2 separate regions of the Homo sapiens genome follow, and region 1 is linked to region 2. The links are contacts of gene promoters, found by promoter capture Hi-C in blood cells and fetal thymus (Javierre and others, 2016). All regions are on one chromosome and are shown on one strand. Each heading gives the region's core, a stretch centred on a gene start or on the middle of the fragment in contact. The rest is flanking DNA. Distances are from core to core; before and after follow the strand shown.

Region 1 (5,663 bases), core at 2,660-5,159, 250 kb before region 2:
ATTATCCTTAGCAAACTAAAGCAGGAACAGAAAACCAAATACTGCATGTTCTCACTTACAAGTGGGAGCTAAATAATAAGAACTTATGAACACAAAGACAGAAACAACAGACACTGGAGTCTACGTGAGTGGGGAAGGTAGGAGGAGGGAGAGGAGCAAAAGAGATAACTATTGGGTACTGGGCTTAATACCTGGGTGATGAAATAATCTGTACAACAAGCCCCCATGACACATGTTTACCTATGTAACAAACCTTCACATGTACCCCCAAACCTAAAATAAAAGTTAAAAGAAATATAGATTGTTATGTTGGTGAGAAAGGGCTGAACTCAGGACTGGGAAAAATGTTGCAATCTGGAAAGGGGTTTTTGCCTATTTACACACTTGTGCATGCTTACTTGTGTAAGCTGAGCCTATGACATCCTATCACCTTCTCTCACGCTGCCAGTGGGTAGCTCAAGGTTGAAAAGTCTCTCCCGATTCTGAAGTCAGGCTACATACATATACTCAAATTGCCATTTTGACTTGAAAATCTTAAAAAATATTAATAAATACTTGGACACAGAGGAAACACAGTAAGATAAAGTAGCCGTGCCATCAAAATAGGGATGAACAAACTCTGTCCTAAGGCTATATGAAATGCTAACTCTCCATGTCTACCCTACGCGTAAAGTTACAACTACTTGCCATACAAATGAATGAAACTGTAAGGCCAAGTGGTAAAGGACTCACTCTGATGGCCCCTGAGGAAGGTCGATAAACCATTGTAGCTAAAAAAGGCAAAAATATACTAGATGACATAAGGAAATAAAACCTCCTTGTCTGATGCTTAAATCCCTTCTTTAAATCTCATAGCACTATATAAAATCATGGCATGTTTTGTTTGCACCTGTTTAGTTCTGACAAATTTCAAAAAATAAAGACAAAATAGGGTTGGAGAAAGGAGATTTAGGAAAAGTGATCAGGTGGCCAAAGTGCTGTCACTAAACAGGGACTGGCTCTGAGAATTCAAACCTTTCAAAGGGGCAAGACAAAGAATTATGCAGAGATACCCTGGGTAGTATACTTTAGAGGTGGTAGAGAAAGTTGAAAACATTAAGAGGAAGCAAATCATGCTGAGTGGTGACCCAGTGTGGCACATCCTAAATATTGTTTCTTAACTTTGCTCTTCTTAAAACCAGCCATTGGTACTGACCATCATCTCTTCATCAATGGCATCAAGTCCAATGTACACTCCTGGGTCCTGCCAAGCAGTGTAGCAATTACTTCTCCAAAGAGCCTGGTTTTAATCAACATTTTGGATGGGTCTCACTAATACTTTAGATTTAATGCACTTTTCTAAGATTAAAAAAAAAAAAAAAACCACCATGGCATGGTCATGCTGAGTGAGTGAAAGTCTGACCCAGGATGAACTAATATTATTTAGAGTCTTCCTTCTTGCCCTTTCTGTCTCACCTGTTAAGAATCTTGAGGATATTTTTCCTGTCCCCAGTTAAATGACTCTAACTACTTAGAACGACAATTAGTATAGTCTTTCAATTTATTATTTTATTTATGTTGAGGTATTTGCTTTAAATATTGGTGCCAGAAGATAAACCGACTAAGATTTTTTGGTCAAGAGCACTATTTAGCTTGGATGTGAAAATGTAAAAATTACTGATTCATCTGGTGCACAGCGCTGATATCATCCCGCTCCATATATACAAGCTCATGGATGAAGGTTTGTTTTCTTCTTTTGCACCAATCGAGGAATGCCATCTTCAGGATGAGTTCTTTTCCTATGCCAGTAGCTGTCAACACCTTTTCCCCAAAATGGAATATTAATTTTTTTAAAAAAGAACAAGTTTGCTTCTGTGCTTCCTGTATTGTTGCCAGTGAGTGGCACTGTTATGGACCGAATGTGTGTGTCTCCCCAAATCCATGTGTTGAAGCCTCAGCCTCCAGTGGGATAGTATTTGAGGGTGGGGTCTTTGGGAGGAACTTAGGGTTGGATGAGGTCATGAGGGTGCCTCCCTCATGATGGGGTTGGTCCCCTTAGAAGAAGAGTTCCCACAGGGCTTGTTTTCATTCTACTCACACATGCACCAAGAAATGGCTATGTGAGCACACAGCCTGGAAGAGGGGCCTCACCAGAACCTGATCACACTGGCACCCTGATCTCAGACCTCCAGTCTCCAGTACTGTGAGAAAATAAATTTCTGTTGTTTAAGGCCCACAGTCCATAGTATTTTGTTATGGCAGCCTGAGCACACTAAGAGAAGCATCCTAAATGGGTAGGTGTCTGCTAGGTTCTCAGCACTTCACACATGCACCTTTTTCCTATCCCACAACATTGTCACACTGGCCAAGCCCCCTACTCATATGTATTCATTTGAGGGACAAGTTGTTTGTTATGGAGTGAAAAGTTTCATACTAATCCCAAATGCCACTCACTGAGTGCTTACCCTATGCCAGGCTTGGTACTAGCTGCTTTATATTCATCAACTCATTTTGTTCTCCTAAAAGCACCATTGGTTAATATCCCCATTATCCTGATTCAAAAATGTAGAAATGGCTCAGGGGCTGCGTAATTTTCCCAGGCTATCTCTGTAAGTAAGTGACCGAGTGAAGATATAAATCGAGGTCTGTTTAGACTCTATGCTCTTTCTTTTGAGCAACATGTGCTTTTAGATTGGAATGAATCTAGGGCAGAATGAATCAAGAAGCATAGCCATGAAAAGAGTTGGCCACCAGTAATATTACCCATTTGAGAAGTTTCCACGGGTCCCAACACTTACCCAGCCTCCGTTGTTCTGTTCCAGCTTTCCATGTCTCTATTTCTTCCTTCTTTAGGATTTCAGTGCCCTGCAGCAACCCTTCCTGGAGAAGTGCCTTGTGTATCCCTATCCCTTTTTCCAATCATAATTTACTTGTCCTATGTGCCTCTCCCCTTATAATCCTCTGTGCTTTCTAAGGGACAAACCTCTAATCAGATCCACAAGCTGGGTCCACTATAGTGGTTTATTTCTTAATAGGCTCTATCTTTCCATAGACACAAAAATATACTGTGACAGAGATTGATAACTGTCTCTCATATGCATTTTCACTTTCTTCCTTTAGTAGTAGAACCCCTGAGTTTCACTGGCCACATGACCAGCCAGCAATGACTACATTTCCCAGCCTTCCTTGCAAAAGCTGCTTCAAGAGGCAGTAAATGATGCTGAGCTTGACCTAGTGTGGTGCAAGGATTGCAGGTGGGTGTGGCTTCCTTTGCATCAAGGTGTGGCCATGTAATCTATGCTCTGGCCAGCTGAATGTGAGCAGAAATTATATGTCCAAATTCTAAGCTGTGCCTTAAAGGGCACACCCTAACCCTTTTCATTCTTGGACTATGCTGACAAGAACCACACTCTTGGGGTGGTGGAGAAACAAGATGGAAGGAGCCTGGGCACCTGACAGCATGGAGCTGCCATGTTGATCCTGGACAGTTTATTCCCGGAGAGTTATATGTGAGAGGGGAAAAAAAAGTTCGATAGTTGAAGCTTGTATTATTTTGGGCTTTTGGTAGGTCAGCTGAACTTCTAACCTAAATAATATAATTCAAGAAAGGAACCTTCTGATGACAGTATTTTATTCTAAAGGAGCGGCCCCAGTGCTGGGCATTTGGGGTGCTGTGGTAGGCTCTTGTGGTGATCTTCTGGGATTAGGCTGGGCTTTGGGCAGCCTCTTACTTTTTGACCATGGAGTTGGATGCCCACCTTTGAAGAGGTGAGACCTGCCCAGCTGGCTCCCAGAAGCCTCTGGACTGTTTCCTGGACTTATCTGCTTTTTAGGTAAGGGCTGCCATGATCCTGCCAGAGTGCCTCTCAGATAAAACTAAAGGAAGACAGTAGTCAAAACCCTGAAGTATTCTGGCTGATGTCAGACAGAAAAACAGAAAATTTACAGCACTCAAAATCTGGGATTCATTTAGGAGTAAAAAAAAGCATGAAGTTATCCAACCTCAAAACTGTTTTCAGGCTTCCACTGGGCCCCAGTACTCTTCCTAATTGCAAGACCATGTAGAAGTTGGATCTGAAATAAGACCATGAGCCAGTATCAAAATGCCCCATTTTCATGGTGCACGAAATGCTTCACGAATCCAGCCTGCACTAATTAAATGTCTGTGATACTTCTCCCCAGGCTGGGCTGAGCTCGTGTTCTGTATGATCTGGGAAGAAATGGTTGTTGGACTCATATTGAGACTGTAAGAGGAATCTTTAAGAGGAAAAAAAATATATATGTTAAATCTTTTGGAAAGAGGCAGGGTAAAGCTTTGGGGGGATTTCAGCACCTGGATTATAAATAAAGAATGTCGCTAATTACCAACGAATTTTATTTGTTCATTAAAAGTGGACTCAGCAGAAAGCTCCACTTGGAGAGATGACAAACGGTATGACCTCTACTTCATTTCTTCTATTTCAATGGTTCCTCCTAGTTGCACAAACCCTTACCAGGATAACAAGGTCACCCCAAGTACCTGGATGGGCCTCTGACTCCCGAATTCTTCTCAGCCTCCTCTCACTGCTTTTGTTGCTGCTCCTGGCTTGCAGCATTTCTTACTTCTCAACCACCATTTTGGCTCCTAGGCTCTCCCATTTCCTACCGCTTGATGAGGCCTTTGGAACTAGCTTGACCTTTGCCTTCCTCCGGCCTCATGACCTGCTCCACATCCTTCCCCAATTGACTGGTCTTTCACTAGGTCCCATTCCACAGGGGATGAGGACTGGGCCCTGGAGGAGTCTCTCTGAGCTAGATCCCAGGGGCTGCTCACAGAGATCAGCCCTGGAGTGAATTCAGCCAGAGAACCCAAAGAAACTCTGTGAATCCAGACAGTCCAGGAAAAGAAAGGTGACCTCATGCTTAGTAAGAACAATCTCTGTTCAGTCTCCAAAGACCCTGCAATGAGTGGGGGTGCTCGTGGTTTGGCCCACTCCCCCGAGCTATGGCTACCAACCCCCTCATTGAGGAACAGGATTCTTGAGGCTGAGAGATGTGGCTGGGACTGAGGCAGAGGAATGCAATGGAGAGGCAGTGTGGGGACACACTGCAGTTCTGAACAGCTCACTCTGATTTTCTGGGAGTCTTAGCTATGCAGTGGTTGAAATTATGAATAAGCAAAAAGCCCAATAGTAACAGCAATACTCCTTGTCCTCTTTCCGGCCATCACAATTCCCACCTGGTCCTTTCTTGCCTTTCAGCCTTCTTTCTTTGAAGGCAGGGACTTTGTCATATTATTTGGTTTTGGCCTAAAAGAAGCTCTGGAATAGCACCCAACATTTGCTAGTGTTCAATCCATAAGCTCCCTGAAGAGGCTAAAGAACTACATTGTGAAGCTGGAGAGGGAGTTTGGGGGTTTGCATCATCAGTTTCTCTAAACCTGTTGCTTTTTCTCAGCTCGCCTCTCTCCTGCATCCCATCTCCCTTGCTTCTCCCCTACCCATGAGGTTAATGAGTGCCTCTGGTAGCGAGCTGAGCAGAACACCAAAATTTCCCTGCCTTGAGGTGTCTTCTTCCTACTCTCTGCACCCCGGACATGTCCAGACTACCAATTGGTCTGATATATGTATTTTTAAATTATTTAATAAAATAAAAAATAAATTTTTAAATTCACTTTGTCGCCCAGGCTAGAGTGCGGTGTCATG
Region 2 (5,614 bases), core at 2,515-5,014:
GTTCCTTTCTTTGCTCCTCTCTTTCTTTGCTTCTCTTTTCCTTTCCTTCTCTCTTTCTTTCCTTCTCTCTTTCTCTCTTTTTTCTTTTTCTTTCTTTCTCTCTCTTTCTTTCTTTCTTTCTTTCTTTCCTTCCTTCCTTCTTTCTTTCTTTCCTTCCTTCTTTCTTTCTTCTTTCCTCTCTTACCAATTAATATTGTCATTTACATTTCCCGAGTTTTAGGTGAAATGTCAATTTCAATCTCTTTAGAAGGTCGTAAAACCTCCTTTGAAAACAAAGTGAGATAGTCTAAGCTTTGGAAGCAGTAATGTTGTATAAGTCTTTCAGCATTATTGAGGGTATCTGCAGGCAAGGCAAAAGGATGTTCATATTTGTTGTATATACCCACAATCCCTTGAACATAGTGTTTGTTGGTTTGAATTTTAACTGATCATGCAACACTTATTAACAGTAGTTATCTCTAGGGAACAAAATCGGATGAGCAAAATGGTCACCTTTACTTATAACTGTATGCTATGTGTAATTAGAATTTATTTTTAATTTCTTTATGGTTAACATGCACATTTTTTGTTAAAAAGAAATCGTATTTTTAAACAATAAAGTGAAAATTGCACGTTGACTACCTACATTTCCATAATCCCAGATGGAATTCCAGGAGTCCCATCCGTTGTTATTGTCAACATTGGCCACATTGTGTTCATTGTTGACACTCACTGACTGCTGCCCACTTCCAGCATTGTTGTTGTCATCATTGACGTTGATATTCTGAAGTTTATAAGAGATTGAGAGTGATTTAATATCACATTTCCTTGCAAATGCATTTTGGTAGCAAACTTGAAAAGGTGAGACTTACATAGTTAGCTAGGGCAGGAGCTAGAAAGACTCCAAGAAGTCCAGCAAAGACAATCTGAAATCACAAATAACATTGGTCTCCTGTTACATGGCAAAATGATGTCTTCTTTCTTCCTCTATCCAAGCTTATGAAAAGTATTCACTAATTTTACCAATGTGTTCAGTTCTAGTTCAATGTGTTTTTTTCTTCTCTTACCTTGCATTTTTTAACCATAAAGGTTTTAACGATAATGTGAAATTGCTGATTAATTATAAGTAATTATATTAATGTGATATATAGTTTTAGAATTTTTAGTGTAGGCCTTATGAAACGCTGGAAAAATTGATGAAGAAGGGAAGTTGAGAGCCAGGAAAGCTGCTTTCATCTCATTGCCATCCAGTACTGAGGAAGAAAATGTAATTTTCAAGTAGTGATAAATCAAATTATTGAATCAAATCCCTTTTAAAGTAAAACCCAGAATGTACCATCTTGTTTCTCTTCAGTTTAATAAGTGGTATCATAAAGATGACTTTGCTAAGATAATACTTCTGGAAATGTCAGAATAGAGTTTAAAAATTTTTAAGATTGGTCAAAATATTAACTTTATAATAAAACATATACTTGGCAAATGAATTTCCTATAAATTATCATTGGTCAGAATGCTGTTTTGTTGAATTATATTATGTAATATAAACCATAGGTGTTATTAGAAAGTAGAGAACTGCCTTTCTTATTTAGAGCTTTCAAGGACTTGCTATAAATGATTATTTTTAAAATGCTTTATAAATCTTCATGATTTTTCTATTTTGGATAAACTCAGCTATAGTTAATGACAGCATCCTACCTTGAGTAGATATTTGGATTATTTAAATCTAGTAAAAGAAGAAAGTTATACTTCTTCGAGTATTAAGAGATAGGAGTAAAGATTCACTTTTAAGTTATTGAAAATATGTGTATCCTCCTAAATATTAACAAAAATGATTTGGGATAACTGACATGGCTTGGTTATTCAGCTTAAATTTGTACTGTGGCTTATGTTACACAGGTTGTTGATGCTCACCTCTCACTCACTTGTTTCTAATTGTTTTATAAGGTTTAAAATTCTCTCTTTAGAGAAATTCAGAAAATTCACCTGGCACATATTTTGACCTCCTAGGTAACATATTTGTACCAGTATTGAATTTTGGTCAGTGCCCCAATATAAGAAAGTTACTGTTTTAAAATAAAGCAAACTATCTTATTTTCCTTGGAAAAAAAAAGAAGTTTTACAATAAATAGCATAGTATAAATGAATACTATGGTTTGAGATGGCTATAAGTGCTAAAAATCACATCTGAAAATGATTTCAGTTAATTTTCCTATTTAACATGGGATGTTTTCTTCCTAATAGAAATAATCTTTTTATTAAAAAAAACTTTCCAAAGCAATGGATTAGTAGGCAGTTTGGATGCCAATGATGAGAAAGCAAGTATAGAGTGTCTCGCTGGCAAGAGTGATCAGCAGAGGCGATGTCACTAGCAGTGTCCCAGGATACTTGGTTTAATTATTTATCACAGGGTCCCTGACATTGGTTTTCAGAGCACAGAGCTTTATGCAGGGTGCCTCATTCTGGGTACCTAGTCTCATTTCCTTTGCCTGGGACAAAATAGTTTTGAGAACTGCTCTAGAGATTCAAGGTAACTTTTGAAAAAAAATTAAATTTTTCTCCCAATAGCTTAAAAAGGAGTTAAAAATTAGTCTCCTAAAAAGTCAGAGGTAGAAGAAATTTTAGAGAACACCTAGTACAATGCAATCATTTTACAGATAAGGTAACTGAGCTTCAGGGGTTAAGTGAGTTGGCCAAACTTATACCTCTTGTTCACAGCAGAACTAGGAGAGAAATCAAATCTAACCTGTGTCTGGAGCTCCCTCTGACCCTTTTAAACTTTGCTGCTATTAAGAGGACCTAGTTCTAGGTAGTCATTTTACATTTGCAGCCCCATTATAAAGTAGAGTCTGCCGTAACGTTTTCCAGTGTGTAGTATGTTGAAACATGAAAATAGTCATCTGATTCTAGCCCCTTTGCATCGTGTTGTGAGAAACCCGGCACTACTAGTTACTTTGGCAGGGTTTCTCGGTCCACCTCCTCCTAGACTCTCAGGCTTCTGTCTGGAACCACAGGAGAGATGCTGTGGTAGCTTCATGTTTCAGATGCTTTCTTAAATAAATGGCCATGCTAGAGCCCAAGGCAAATCTTTCTTTCTTGGAGACCCATTTTACTGTAACAAATGTGACAAGAAGTCTATCTCAGCCACTTATTTTGATAATAAGCTTTTCATCTTTCCTGAACATGCTCAGGAATTTTGGTAAATAAAAGGAGGAATTCAAGAATGAGGGATGATCGGCACTTTCTAGGGCTTAGGAACTGCTTACCCTGCATGGAGACCGGAATCAGGTGATGCGGAAAGTCATTTTGTTAAAAATAGGTCAGTGTGAGGTGCTCAGACAGCTGTCTAATCTCAGCACAATTATCCTTCTCTATAGAGATGCTTATAAATGCCATGATTATATAAATAGAAAAAAGATTTTTTTTCATTATTTCTTCTTCTAAAAAAAAGGGATACATGTGCAGAACGTGCAGGTTTGTTACATAGGTATATGTGTGCCATGGTGGTTTGCTGCCCCTATTGACCTGTCCTCTAAGTTCCCTCCCCTCACTCTCCACCCCCCAACAGGACCTAGTGTGTGTTGTTCCCCTCTCTGTGTCCATGTGTTTGAAGAGAGAATTTTTTTAAAACAAATTTTCCATGATGGGGCCATAAGAAGCAGACCTCCTAAATCTCAGAATATTGACAGTCTCCAATCATTTGGTGGTAAATTCAAAAGGAAAAATCTACTCACTGTGAACTTCATCTTGTCTTCACGAAAGCAGTGGACAGAGGAGTAGGCAAGCATGGACCTGAATGAGAAGCCTTCTCATATTTGTACTTAACCAGGTTGACTCAAACTAGGTGTTATCAGGTGGGGTCAAAGACTTACCTTCCTCAATTTCTCCTATCTGTGCCATGAGCCAGTGTACCAGGAAACCTTTCAGAATATCTGCATGCTTAGCAAGGAACTTTCACATGGAGTTGACCTGACTCATCACTTGTTGAAGCTGAAGGTATCACAACAAACTCAATATGATTTATGATAACTTCTCACCCAGTCAAAGCTGTGGGCGTGAGTATTTTACACGCTAACATTGCTCAGATTCAGAAAAAGAATAATCCCTAAAATCAAACAAAATCACAGCTGAAAAGCCACGTGTATACTAGGCCTTCCAGATAGCAGCTCCTATAGGAATGTAGGAATGGTTTCCACTTCTTAACTTTTATCTGAGCCCATGGCAATGGTTTTGCTTAGACTAAACATGTTTTGTGAGCAACTCCCACCAAACCTACCCCTTTTCTGCAATGTTGAGCTCACTTAATGATAGCACCATATATCTGGTACAGCCCTTTCTTCTCAGTCTGACATCTACTTAGTTACTGTCATTTTATCTCTGAAATGCCTCTCAACTCTGACCTTGCCCACAGCTCCCCTCACCTGGACTTTCACAACAGTCATGCAATTGATCACTCTGGTCACCAGTTTCTTATATTCCAATGCATTTTCTTCATTAACCCTGAGGTTGTCTTTCTGAAGTGCATAGATAGACATGACTCTATCACGCTTGGAAATTTCGCTGGCAGCCTACAGAAAATTCAAAGTCATTGGAATGGCATCCAGGGTCCTATGTAATAAGATTTCCAAAGGCTTCCCGTCTGCCACTTTATGCTATGTACCTACATTCTAGCTCCACCAGCGTTCCCACCATTCCTGGAAAAGTCAAGATGTGTATGTCTCCATGCCTTTGTACATGCTGTTGTTTTATCTTGGAGGGCCACCCGCTAGCCTCTCGCTTGGTAGACTCCTGTTCATTGTTCAAGGCTCAGCTCAAATATCACTGCCTCCATCACATCTCCCCCATCTGATAGATAGAACTTTCCTAGTGTTTGTTTTTTCCTTCTGGGAACTATAAAAGCAATATCTTTTTATTTGCTTCTAGATAATTTAGTTTTCAGAAGTTACATTAAAATAATAAAAAATATTTTCATCAAAAGCAGAGAGTAGAAACTATCAATTGGGCAGACAAGTAAAAGCTCAAAACAGGTTTGGAGGTGAGTTGGTTTTAATTTTTTTCCTGCTTTTTCCTATACAGTGAAGCTAGTAAATTAAATTTGCCAAGGAGGAAAACTGTATTTCATTAACTACCAATCTATAAATTTTCCCTTTGGAAACTTCGTGCCCACAATTTTCCTCCTGTGCATGGATTGAAACCATAAGATGGGATCACATGGTTATAAAGCTTGATTCGCTATCAACATCTCTTCAAAACTGTTGGTAGGAGTGGATTAGAACAGCTGCAGTATTACTGGATATTTTTTAATGTGTCCACTGATTTCTTTCAAACTCACTCTTTATCCACAGAAGGTAATAAGCCTGGAGTAAGGGGCAGACATGTGTGAAGAGGCCTTCATCTGCTTTAGGAAACTTCATGTCACTGAGAAGTCAATGAGTGGGTAGCATGGTCTCTACGTTTAAACTCAGCCACCAGTAGTCATCTTGGTACACAGGTGCAGTGCCCAGCACACATTTTGCATGTCATACCAAGGACAAGGGCCTGAAGTTCTGCAGTGGACCTGTGAAATGCTGGTCTGGAAGATGTTCCATGACAGACAGACAGACAGATAGATAGATAGATAGATAGATAGATAGATAGA

The links. The method cuts DNA at HindIII sites, captures the fragments that hold promoters and counts their contacts. A CHiCAGO score of 5 or more calls a contact.
Region 1: a contact is called between a fragment that was not itself captured here and the fragment with the promoter of GKN1 in region 2, in 2 of 17 cell types (megakaryocytes and M0 macrophages). The highest score is 5.6, in megakaryocytes.

The regions. Positions count from the first base shown.
Region 1 is chr2:69,225,434-69,231,096 of GRCh38, reverse strand. The region is part of intron 17 of ANTXR1 (ANTXR cell adhesion molecule 1); the gene reads right to left. Among named protein-coding and RNA genes, the nearest start is that of MIR3126, 120 kb to the right of the region's middle. The HindIII fragment of the contact is 771 bases long and covers 3,524-4,294 here.
Region 2 is chr2:68,972,786-68,978,399 of GRCh38, reverse strand. It overlaps GKN1 (gastrokine 1), which reads right to left and starts at 3,764. Exons shown (of 6, transcript NM_019617.4): 1 at 3,711-3,764; 2 at 852-905; 3 at 626-763. The coding sequence starts at 3,722. The HindIII fragment of the contact is 2,059 bases long and covers 3,143-5,201 here.